3 separate regions of the Homo sapiens genome follow, and all the other regions are linked to region 3. Evidence: promoter capture Hi-C in 16 types of primary human blood cells and fetal thymus (Javierre and others, 2016). All regions are on one chromosome and are shown on one strand. The core of a region is centred on a gene start or on the middle of the fragment in contact, and the rest is flanking DNA. Distances in the headings are between cores, read along the strand shown. Region 1 holds the start of HMGB1 (high mobility group box 1). Region 2 overlaps KATNAL1 (katanin catalytic subunit A1 like 1). Region 3 holds the start of ALOX5AP (arachidonate 5-lipoxygenase activating protein).

Region 1 (3,091 bases), core at 426-2,925, 270 kb before region 3:
GCTTTTTTTTGCATCCTCAATTGGAAACTGTCTTTTAATTACCTTGTTAGCATGTTTTAAGCCCTCTTACCTTCCACCTCTCTGAGCACTTCTTAGAAAACTCTGAGAAGTTGACTGAAGCATCTGGGTGCTTCTTCTTATGCTCCTCCCGACAAGTTTGCACAAAAAATGCATATGATGACATTTTGCCTCTCGGCTTCTTAGGATCTCCTTTGCCCATGTTTAGTTATTTTTCTAAAAAATAAAATAAATATTTGATGTTAGCAATAAAATTATGACATATAAGACCTTAAAGTACTTAGTAAGGGAATGAAAACCAAAGTACTGGTTATTTAACACAGTAGCGACATCAACCTCCGTAAAATCAGACAAGAATATGGCCGAGAGATTAAATTCCTTGAAGGGGCTATGCCAAGCAAACAAAACAAAACAAAAACAGTCCTTCAGGGCGATCTCAAAAAGTCTAGACACAAAGATATACCCATACAGTATTCCCTATCTATCCGCCCGAGTCTGCTCTGAATGAGTATCTAACTGGTCACTTAAACGATTTTAAAATCTAGAACACCATTTTAAACCAACCAAACCAAAGGTCAGAAAACATGCTGCCAATTCGTGGCTTTGCACTAGATAGGGAATAAACAAGGGCCTAAGCGAGTCGACTCTTCCTAATTATGGGACCTTAAAAAAAAAAAATCACCGTGCACCGAAAGTTTCAAAAAACACCCTCTTTGCATAAAACTTTGCTCCAAAGAGGGAGCAGCAGCCAGCTCCGGTGCTCGGAACCCGGTTGGGGGGTGGCGGTGCCACCGCGAGGCAGCCTCGTTTCCTATCGGTTTGGCCCTGAGATGTATTTCTGTTCTGACTAAACACGTCCGGTCTGAAGTTTCTCCGAGTAAACAAGGATGAGGGACAAAAGCCACTCCTGCTCGTGGCTCGGTGGCCCCCTCCCCCAACTCGGGAAGTATTTTTTGGAGCCGTGAAAGTTGGGGTGACTCCTGCGCGGGGCGAGCCCCCCGCCCCTAGAACTTCGCCGGTGGCCGCGCGGCCGAGGAGAGAGGACGCGGCCCGGCTCCCAGGCCCGAGGCCGCCACGTGCGCCCGGCAGGCCCTGCAGGCCCGCGCCGCCGCCGCCCCCATTTTGTCAGGCTCGGCGCAGGGAGAAGCCCCGCTCGAAATGGGGGCTGGCTCCGCCCGCGGCCGCCGGGGCCGGCGCGCACGGAATGGCCGCTGCGCGTCTTCTCCGCCTGCGCCGCCGCCGCCGCGAGGGCGAGCGCGAGCGAGAATATGGCTCCTTCCCTTTGTGTGTGTGTGTGTGTGTGTGTGTGTATGAGAGAGTGTGTGAGTGCGAGGGTGCGGGCGCGGCGGCGGCGGCGGGCGGGGTGCGAGCCGCGCTCTGGCGCACACACTCGGCCATTACGGCCGGGGGAGGGGCGGGGGGCGCGCGGCCGGGCCCTCCCCTCCGCGCCGCTCCCCTCCCCCCGCCGCGGTGGGGGCCGCCCGAGGGCCCACCCGCCCGCCACTCCCCGTCTCCCTCCGCGCGGGCCGCGCGCCCCGCCGCCCCCGCACGGAGAACGCGGGGCTGTGAAAAGAGAGAGGAAAAAAAAAGTTGCCTCGGAACTGCTGCGCCCAGCTCCCCCGCCCGCCCGCCTTGTTTTCTCTCCAGCCAGCAGCGCCGGGCCCGAGTCAGCCATGTTCCAGCGAGCGCAGCGGCGCCGCTCCCCCCGCCGCCCGGCCGCCGCCGCCGCCGCGACCGGGCCGAGGCCGGCCGGGCCCGCACTGCCGCCCCCAGGCCCCCGCGCCGCCCTCGCCCGCCGCGGCGCCCCGCCCGCCCCGCCGCCCGCCCGGCTGGCCGCGCTCCCCGCCAGCGCCCGGCTCGCTGCGGCGGCGGCCAATGCAGCCCGGGGAAGCGCCGCCGCTGCCCTCCCGCCGCCGCCGCCGAGCCGCGCCGGCCCCGCCGCCCCGGCCGCGCTCCGCGCACGCCGCCCGCCCGAACGCCCGGCCCGAGGGCCCAAAACACGTTCAAAATTTTTTTAATTAAAAAAAAAATTTTTTTTTTTGCGCCAGTCAGCGCGGACGCCGCCGGGGGTGGAAACTCGCGGGGCGCGGGGCTCCCGGCGCCTCAGGCTGCCTGAGGGCCGGGGCACCGGCGCGGGGCAGCGTTCCCGGCGCCCGGGCAGAGGCTCGCTCCGTGCGCAGTTCCCCCCACGGTCCCCCCTCATTTGCCTTTGTGTGGATCCTGACCCGCCGGCTCCCGGCCGCGGGGATCCGGCCGCCGCGCGGGCTGGGGAGCTGCCGGAGGCGCTCTCCCCGCCGCGGCGCTGCCCCAGACTCACCCTCAGCGAGGCACAGAGTCGCCCAGTGCCCGTCCGGCTCTCACTTGCCCCGGTGCTGTCTCTATGGAGCTCAATGTACTGCAATGGCTGTGAGAGCGGGAGCCAGACGCAGCCTCCTCACTCTCTCCGCTCTGTAACATTACTCTCCAGCCAGCGCGGCTCCTATTGGCTACCGCCAACTCACGGGGCTCGCTCATTGGCCCGATACCTCCCATTGTCCTGACCAGAGCCCGTTTGCTATTGGCTGTCTCCGGGGACACGTCATCAAGGATTGAAACAGCGCGCAAATCTGAATGTGTGTGTATGCCGGGCAAAGAGGCTGAGGCGGGAGAGGCAGAGGCAGAGGCAGCAGCTGCTACGGGAAAGCAGAGCTCTATGGTGTATGTGTGCATGTGTCTAACCCAAGCCAGCCCCACACCGGAGCGGCCGCCGGAGCGAAAAGGGCCTGACTTTTCCACAAGTGTCTCCAACTCCTCAGGCAAAAGAGACACCCACAGGTCTCCCCCCCCCTTCTTGCCCCACATTCACGCCCAAAGCCGTTGAGATAAGAGGCCCCAGGCTTTTAATGGCCCTTCAAAAGTGAGGGCGACACTATGGGATCATGTCCCCTGAAAACTGGGGTCTCTGCTGGTGCTGAGGGGCGGAAGCCGCCGAGCCTCGAGCCCCTCAAAGGTCTCTGATTGCGTTACACTTTAGGTCTCTGGAAAGGCAGGGCTTCTATAAGAAAGTGACATGATCCAGCCAGCCGGGTTTAAA
Region 2 (3,588 bases), core at 990-3,489, 490 kb before region 3:
TGCCAAGTAGCATTCTTATATCAAAACCAATTTAATAAATTCTCACCTTCCATGGCCTTCTAATCCCTTTGAAAAAGTCAGGCATCCACATTGGAAGAACAACAGCTTCCCTTAGCAACTTCTTAGCTTCTTCCAGATCTGCTATGTCATCCCTTTGAAAGAACAGCAAACTTTCATAATGTTTACTCAGGGATCTTTGATTTATGGTCAAAACTAATTCTTTTAATTTTTTTTTACTTATGAAATTATTCTCATAGTAAGAACATTATTCTAATTCTTACTGCATAAAAAGATCAGTGAAAACATTAGTTATTAATGAGGACATGTCATTGAATTAACAACTTGTCAGTTACACATCAACTTCAAATTAACATGTAAAATGTCCTTGGTTACATTCGACAGAACTGTCTCGTCAATTCTATACTTTCATATTATAGATGTGGTCATAATCAGATTAATGAATAACAAGAGAAAACTCACACACCAAGACAACCTATAATTTGTGTTCTCCTCTACTTTAATTCAATAATTTGAAAGACTCTAACCAATGAATGCTAGGATTCCTGGATACAATGTCTCTTTCAAGGGCTTCCACCAGATCCTTATCATAACCAGCACCATCAAATTTTGGCATTTCACCATCACTTGCACCATCTTGCATATTCTTCCTTCCCTGGGGATAGGTATAAAAAAAAAGTACTAGTCAGTAATGGATAATTTAGTTAACATCATTACGCTTTGAAAACATTATAATGCCATCACTTTCTAAATAATTTTTATTATTTTAAGGTAGTATTTTCTGATTACTCAAATGCCATTCTCCTCTATTTAATTCATCAGAAATACATGAACTGGTCAACTTTATTAAAAACTTCAAATCTACATTCTTGCAGGAACAGTTGCATGCAGGTAAGACTAAACTGATCCTTGCTAGATCCCAAAAGACTGGGAAAGCCTACCTTTGAACTGGTAGACGCAGAGGATTTCCACCACTACTAGAAAACATTTTGAATATTAATGTGGAAGGATCTTTTTAAATAGTATTAAGACCATTAAAGCAATATGCTTTACCCCAAATTCTTCATTTAATAATATAGTTGTTTTAAAAGAAATTTTATGCTATGGTTTCTATGGGGTTCTGCCAAGATTCACACAGCTTTGACGAGCTTTAAATGAAATTCACTTATTTGCCAGAGACAGTCCAACTATGGAAATACTTCAGCAAGCACAGCCAAGTGCCTCCCCAGAGCTTTAGCCCCAGTTACTGCCTAGAGTAAAAACAAAACAAGAAAATGGTCAAAATGAGTCAATCTCCTAAACTTCAACCGGAAAAGAGACAAGAGAACAAGACAAACTTCTCCAATCCCACTTCTGAGATAGTCAAAAGGCTCAATCATAAGTGCTGGAGGAAACTAAATGGCTCCCTTGGACAGATGCTCTGGTTCCTTCAAGCCACTAGGTAAGTGACCAAACAGTATTCTGGTACTTCACCCAAAAAAATAAATTATTTCTGGGCAGTATGGCGGTAGCATTAAATTTATTAGTAAATTTTCCCGAAGATTCTTGCATTCCAGATGACAGATATCAATACTGACAATATTAAAAGGAGTAAATTTTTGGCACCTACACAAGAAACATAACATCAACAAACTTAAGCTTAGGCTAGAGTCAAATTTTATAGTACAGATAGGCCAAGGCTACCAAGTCATATTCAAACAAATCACTAGGAACATTCTGTAATCATTTAAAAACTATTCTAGAAACGTATCAACGAAAGAATACAACAGAAACTGACATATCTGGAGCTTGAGCCTTCATATGGCACTGTAATTTACACTTATCAAGTTAAAATTAAAATTTCATTTTAATATGAATGTCCAAGTGGCTGGAAAGAACTTAATAAACACTACCTCAGGAGAAAGAAAAAGCTGCATGCCTATCTGAAAGTAATAGGAGTATCATAGGATTTTAAAAACAGTAAATATTTGGGCATCTTCTACGTGCAATACATGCTATTGTGCATTAGGTTTTAGAGCAGTGAATGAAAATACATTATCTGCCCTCATCAAGCATCTAGTCTAGTGGGGGAAACGAGTAACAAGTAAATAAAGCAAAAACACACATAAACTGTGAAGTGCTGTGAAAAAACCTGAGTAGCCAGTATAATAAAATGTATTGCGCAGAAGAAAGAGGTTGAAGATATGGGCAGAGGTGAGTTTGGATTTCTTCTGGCTCCTATAGAGGACGGGGTAGAGGAGGAGAATCAAAGAACTAAAAGCCTCTCACTACACTGAAGAAGAAGTGTGTGTATAGGCCAGTTAAATGACCTGCCCGAGAACCCAAAGTTTCTCAGTGGTACACATGAGACTTGAATACCGATCGAGGACTACAAAAAAGATTCTGGAAACGTTTTCAAATCAAAATGGTGAGGTTATAAAAAACAGACATAGGAAAACTAAAATTAATTTGGTTATGCCAGGAAATCAGTAAAATGGGTGACAGTTATTCTTCATAAAAAATACTTAAATTAGAATACAGACATCAAATATAAACAGCTAGATTAAATGCAATACCTAAAGGAAACTATTAGTTAAAGGAAATAAAGCTAACCTCTCCAAGATATTACTAAGTGTACATAAATACTACTAACTGCAATGTCACTGAAATGATCTTAGAATTCTTTCCTTAGATTTTCATATGAGTTGACTAAGGTCAACATTAGCAAGAATTTGATTTTTAGCATGAAGGTTGATATACTTTTTTTCTCATGAAAGCAAAATATTTTAGCTTCTTTTTACTAACATCAAAATTTCCCATATCAAGAAAGCTTTGTTACTCATCTTTCATTAGTGTTGGATAATCTTCTATTTGAGGAAAATTAGGCTCAAAGTGACTAACCAAATATTACAGAGCCAATTAATGATATAGTTTGCCCTAAAATGCAAATGTTTCTTACATTTTACTATGCAACCTCTCACACTGGCAGATTAAGTAAAACATGATCAGTTACTAGCTCTGGGTCTTGCATTTTAAGAGAAATACTGATAAATTACACCCAGGGAAGAATAATCAAGATGATAAAGGGTTCAAAACCCATGTCATATGGAGGAAGACCAAGGAAACTAGAGACATTTAAGCTGAAGAAGTAAATTCTAATGGGGCAATACAACCAACAGGCCTACTAGGTATTAAGCCAAAAAAAAAAAAAAAAAAAAAAAAAGCAAGGGCCAGTAACAAAAGAGATAGATTTCAGATCAGCAAAAGAAAGAATTTTCTAACAATAGATTCTGTCCAACAGACGAATCAACTCATTAGGTAGTAAGCTACCACGCATCGGAAATTACTGGCCAATTAGTAATAAAAATCACTGGGTCATAGTCACACGGATGTCTAAGCTTAATTATAGCTGATCTTTTTCCTGTAAAGCCACTGCCTCTCACTTGCCTAATTTATTCATCTGTTGCCTGATTTCAATGGCCCAAGGAAAGTGCAAAATTTCTTGGAAATCTCATTATTTTTCTTTTTTTTAAATTATACTTTAAGTTCTAGGATACATGTGCAGAACGTGCAGGTTTGTTCCATAGGTAT
Region 3 (3,507 bases), core at 598-3,097:
CCCACCCTCACCAATATGGTGGGTGTCATCAATCCACTGAGGGCCTGAATAGAACAAAAAGCGGGCAGAAGGGCAAATTCCCTCTTCTTCTTGAGCTGGGCCATCCATCTTCTCCTGCCCTTGGACACTGGAGCCCCTTGTTCTCCAGCTTTTGGATTCAGACTGGGTCTTGCACCATTGCCCTCCATCTTCTCCTGCCCTTGGACACTGGAGCCCCTTGTTCTCCAGCTTTTGGATTCAGACTGGGTCTTGCACCATTGCCCTCCTTGATGCTCAGGCCTTTGAATGCAGACTGGTCTCCACCAGCAGCTTTTCTGAGTCTCCAGCTTGCAGATGGCAAACCATGAAACTTCATGGTGTCCATGAGCATGTGAACCAATTTCTATTATAAATCTGCAATATATATATATGAGGAGACTTATTTATATATTGGTTCAGTTTCTCTGGAGAGCCTTGGCTAATATAAAGTCTATACTCTACAAAGTGCCCTAGGTACTCAGGGAGTACCCAAGTGTGTCATGACCAGCCCGACAGCCCTGGCTGCTGGCTTCCCCGCACACAACTCTGCACGCTGCCTTCATCAGCCTTTCTCTCTCAGCTGAACCGAGGGCATTGAAGCGGGCCTCTGGCACTGTACCTATGAGGGAGCAATATCTTCCCCTACACTGACCTCTTCCGTGCCGAGATGCAGCCCTCCCTGCTGCCACTAGTTACAGTGGTCCATGTTCCCTTTCAAAGTGAAGTTTTGATAAAAGCACCTCTTAACCAATGCCAAATAGCTAAGTCTGGGACAAAGATTGCAGGTATTTTGCATTTTCCATGTAACCTCAGAGGGATTGCCATTCACACTGATCTGAGCTGCAGAATACCAGGCAGCCACCTCACCCACCCAGCAGGTCCACTCTTATACTTTCTCAGAAAGCACAGCCACTCTACTCTTATTCAGTTGAAAAGAATTTCCAGGAAGGTGTTTCTGCGATTGCCTCAGAAAAGTCAGTTCCCTTTGGGAATTTCCCTTAGGGATCATCTGTAACTCCATTTCTGCCTTTTACCTGAATTCTTTGGTTTGGTTTGAATTCTTTGGTTTAATTTATGAATTCCCTTTATTACTTTTCTCTGAAGAAATGGAGATATCAGCTGTCCCTCCCCACTGCCATTTATTCCTTCCTTCATTCAAACCTTATGTGGCTGCTACTTACCGTGTGTTAAGTGTTCACTTTTTTTCTTGGAATTCAAAAAAAGAAGGACAGTATTTGGGGCACAGATCTTTTGGTGTTCTATACATTTTTTTAAAGTTTCATTTTACATTTGTGTGTGCGTGTGTGTGTGTGTGTGAGACAGTCTTGCTCTGTTGCCCAGGCTGGAGTGCAGTGGCATAATCATTGGCTCACTGTAGCCTCAAAGTCCTGGGCCCAAGCAATCTTCCCACCTCAGCCACCCAAAATGCTGGGGTTACAGGTTTATGCCACTCTGTCTGACCTGAAAGTTTTGGGTTTACTTTCCCTTCTTTCTCTTTGCTGAAGTCAGAGATGATGGCAGCTTCCAGATTCTCTGGTGCCTGTGCTGGGCTCGTGCTGGTCATGGTCTTGGGTCCAGGATTCATTCTGGAGACTCTCAGGGAAGTTTCCCATGACAAGGAAATGTAGGAGAGTGTGCTGGCTTTGCGTGCTCCTCTGCCAAGCCCTGCTTCTCCTGGTGGGACACACTGAACCACAGCCAGGGCATTTTGGTGGTTAGTTAAAAAAAAAAAAAAAAAAAAAAAAAGGAAGAAGAAGGCACTGTGTAATTGTGCCGGGGATCTTCAGAAATTGTAATGATGAAAGAGTGCAAGCTCTCACTTCCCCTTCCTGTACAGGGCAGGTTGTGCAGCTGGAGGCAGAGCAGTCCTCTCTGGGGAGCCTGAAGCAAACATGGATCAAGAAACTGTAGGCAATGTTGTCCTGTTGGCCATCGTCACCCTCATCAGCGTGGTCCAGAATGGTAAGGAAAGCCCTTCACTCAGGGAAGAACAGAAGGGGAGATTTTCTTTGATGGTTGTTTGGAAGTCAGGCTTAAACAATTGTGTCTGTGTGTGCGCATGCACAAACACTTTTACCTTATCTTTATTTTCTTCTTTTTATTTGAATGTATAGGGTTGTGTGTATTTCTGTGTAAATTTGGGGTTTTCCTCCTCTTAGTCTTTCACTTTTGTGGTGATTACCAGTCCCATTTTTAGAGCCAGGGCTGCAACTTGAAGGTTTTGCTAAAACCCTCACCGAAGTGTCTATGATCAGCATTTTAACTATTAATTAATGTGGCCAGGCAAGGGGTGGAAGGTGAGAAGACTAGAAAGGGAACATGATATACACATTTACTCAGATACTGGGCTTTTCTAACATCTGCAGTGCAATTGAAGTTACCAGTCATCTGCAGTCTAAAAAGAAAGTGATTTTGGGAGGTGCGTAGAAAAAATCATCTTATTATTTTTCCTCTATATTACTTTTTTCTTTTTTTCTCCTGAAGAAACTTTTTTTTTTGGTGATACCTTCTTTTTCTCTAGCACGTATAATTTTGGAAGCATTTTTCATATGCAGTGTATACTTCAGAAAGAGAGAGAGAGAGAGGAAAATTGTCCTGTTCAGCGTTTGCATTTCCATTATTCCTGCTATTAGTTAAAAACAACAACAACAACAAAAAACAAGCAGGATACCTAGATCTGGAAAAGGGAGAATTGTGTAGAGCTGTCTTCCTAAAGTTCTGAGTTAGGGCTGCCTCAGACCACTTTCATAACTATCTCCAGTGGCTTTGTGTTTTATATTTATTAAGATAGAGAAAAAAAGAGTAATTACTAAGGGCAGCTGCTGTAGCTTTATGGTGATTACTGAACATTGACATGCTGTCACGTTTTTGGAACTTTGAGTATTTAATCACTTTGGGATATTCTATTTTCCCCCATCTTGAGTGTGGACAGATGCTGGTGATGTAGCCTTCTGGGCACAGAGCAAGCCTCCCCCTCAGCCTCTGCACCAGAAAGGCTCAGCTTCACACACTCCAAGTATGTTTTCTACAAGAACTACACTTTGTGGCTTTCTGACCCAAACATTTTTATACTAAATTACACACAACAAAGTTGTAGCTCAGAGAGGGAACAAATGGCTTATTTAGGCCACCATTTTCTTGAGCCATTATGATTTCACACAGGGCTCCCTTGGCCCTGTAAATTGGCAAGGATTCCATTATTCAACCCGCATACATGTACAGAGACCCTGCTCTGGCCCAGATAGTATTCTGGGTACAGGCGGATAGAGCAGGAAACAAAACAGCTACAGTGATGGACAGGTCAGCCTGCAGCAATGCCTGCAGTCTCTGCAAAGGTAGCTGTATGGGTGGGCAGGTGGCTAGCACTTATTCAGCTCTGGAAGGATCTCCCCTCTGGCCTCTCCCCTGACACCCATCAATAAAACTGAGGAGCATCGGTGGACAGGGGACCTTGTGCCCCCTCCCTGCCTGTGCAGTTGGGGCTGAACC

Evidence for each region. The method cuts DNA at HindIII sites, captures the fragments that hold promoters and counts their contacts. A CHiCAGO score of 5 or more calls a contact.
Region 1: a fragment that was not itself captured here is called in contact with the fragment with the promoter of ALOX5AP in region 3 in 3 of 17 cell types (neutrophils, naive B cells and fetal thymus); the score reaches 10.3 in neutrophils.
Region 2: a fragment that was not itself captured here is called in contact with the fragment with the promoter of ALOX5AP in region 3 in 1 of 17 cell types (naive B cells); the score reaches 5.5 in naive B cells.

What each region holds. Positions count from the first base shown.
Region 1 is chr13:30,463,461-30,466,551 of GRCh38, forward strand. It overlaps HMGB1 (high mobility group box 1), which reads right to left and starts at 2,476. Exons shown (of 5, transcript NM_002128.7): 1 at 2,336-2,476; 2 at 71-234. The coding sequence starts at 220. RefSeq lists silencers at 900-1,539, 2,139-2,448 and enhancers at 1,884-2,659, 2,660-3,091. The HindIII fragment of the contact is 4,528 bases long and covers 1-3,091 here.
Region 2 is chr13:30,240,414-30,244,001 of GRCh38, forward strand. It overlaps KATNAL1 (katanin catalytic subunit A1 like 1), which reads right to left. Exons shown (of 11, transcript NM_032116.5): 5 at 546-673; 6 at 47-152. It overlaps LOC102723381 (a long non-coding RNA gene), which reads left to right. Exons shown (of 4, transcript XR_007063741.1): 3 at 841-909; 4 at 1,195-1,504. Among named protein-coding and RNA genes, the nearest start is that of KATNAL1, 65 kb to the right of the region's middle. The HindIII fragment of the contact is 1,171 bases long and covers 1,655-2,825 here.
Region 3 is chr13:30,733,696-30,737,202 of GRCh38, forward strand. ALOX5AP (arachidonate 5-lipoxygenase activating protein) reads left to right here and starts at 1,848. Exons shown (of 5, transcript NM_001629.4): 1 at 1,848-1,980. The coding sequence starts at 1,911. All of the region lies in intron 2 of LOC124903146 (a long non-coding RNA gene), which reads right to left. The HindIII fragment of the contact is 8,013 bases long and covers 1-3,507 here.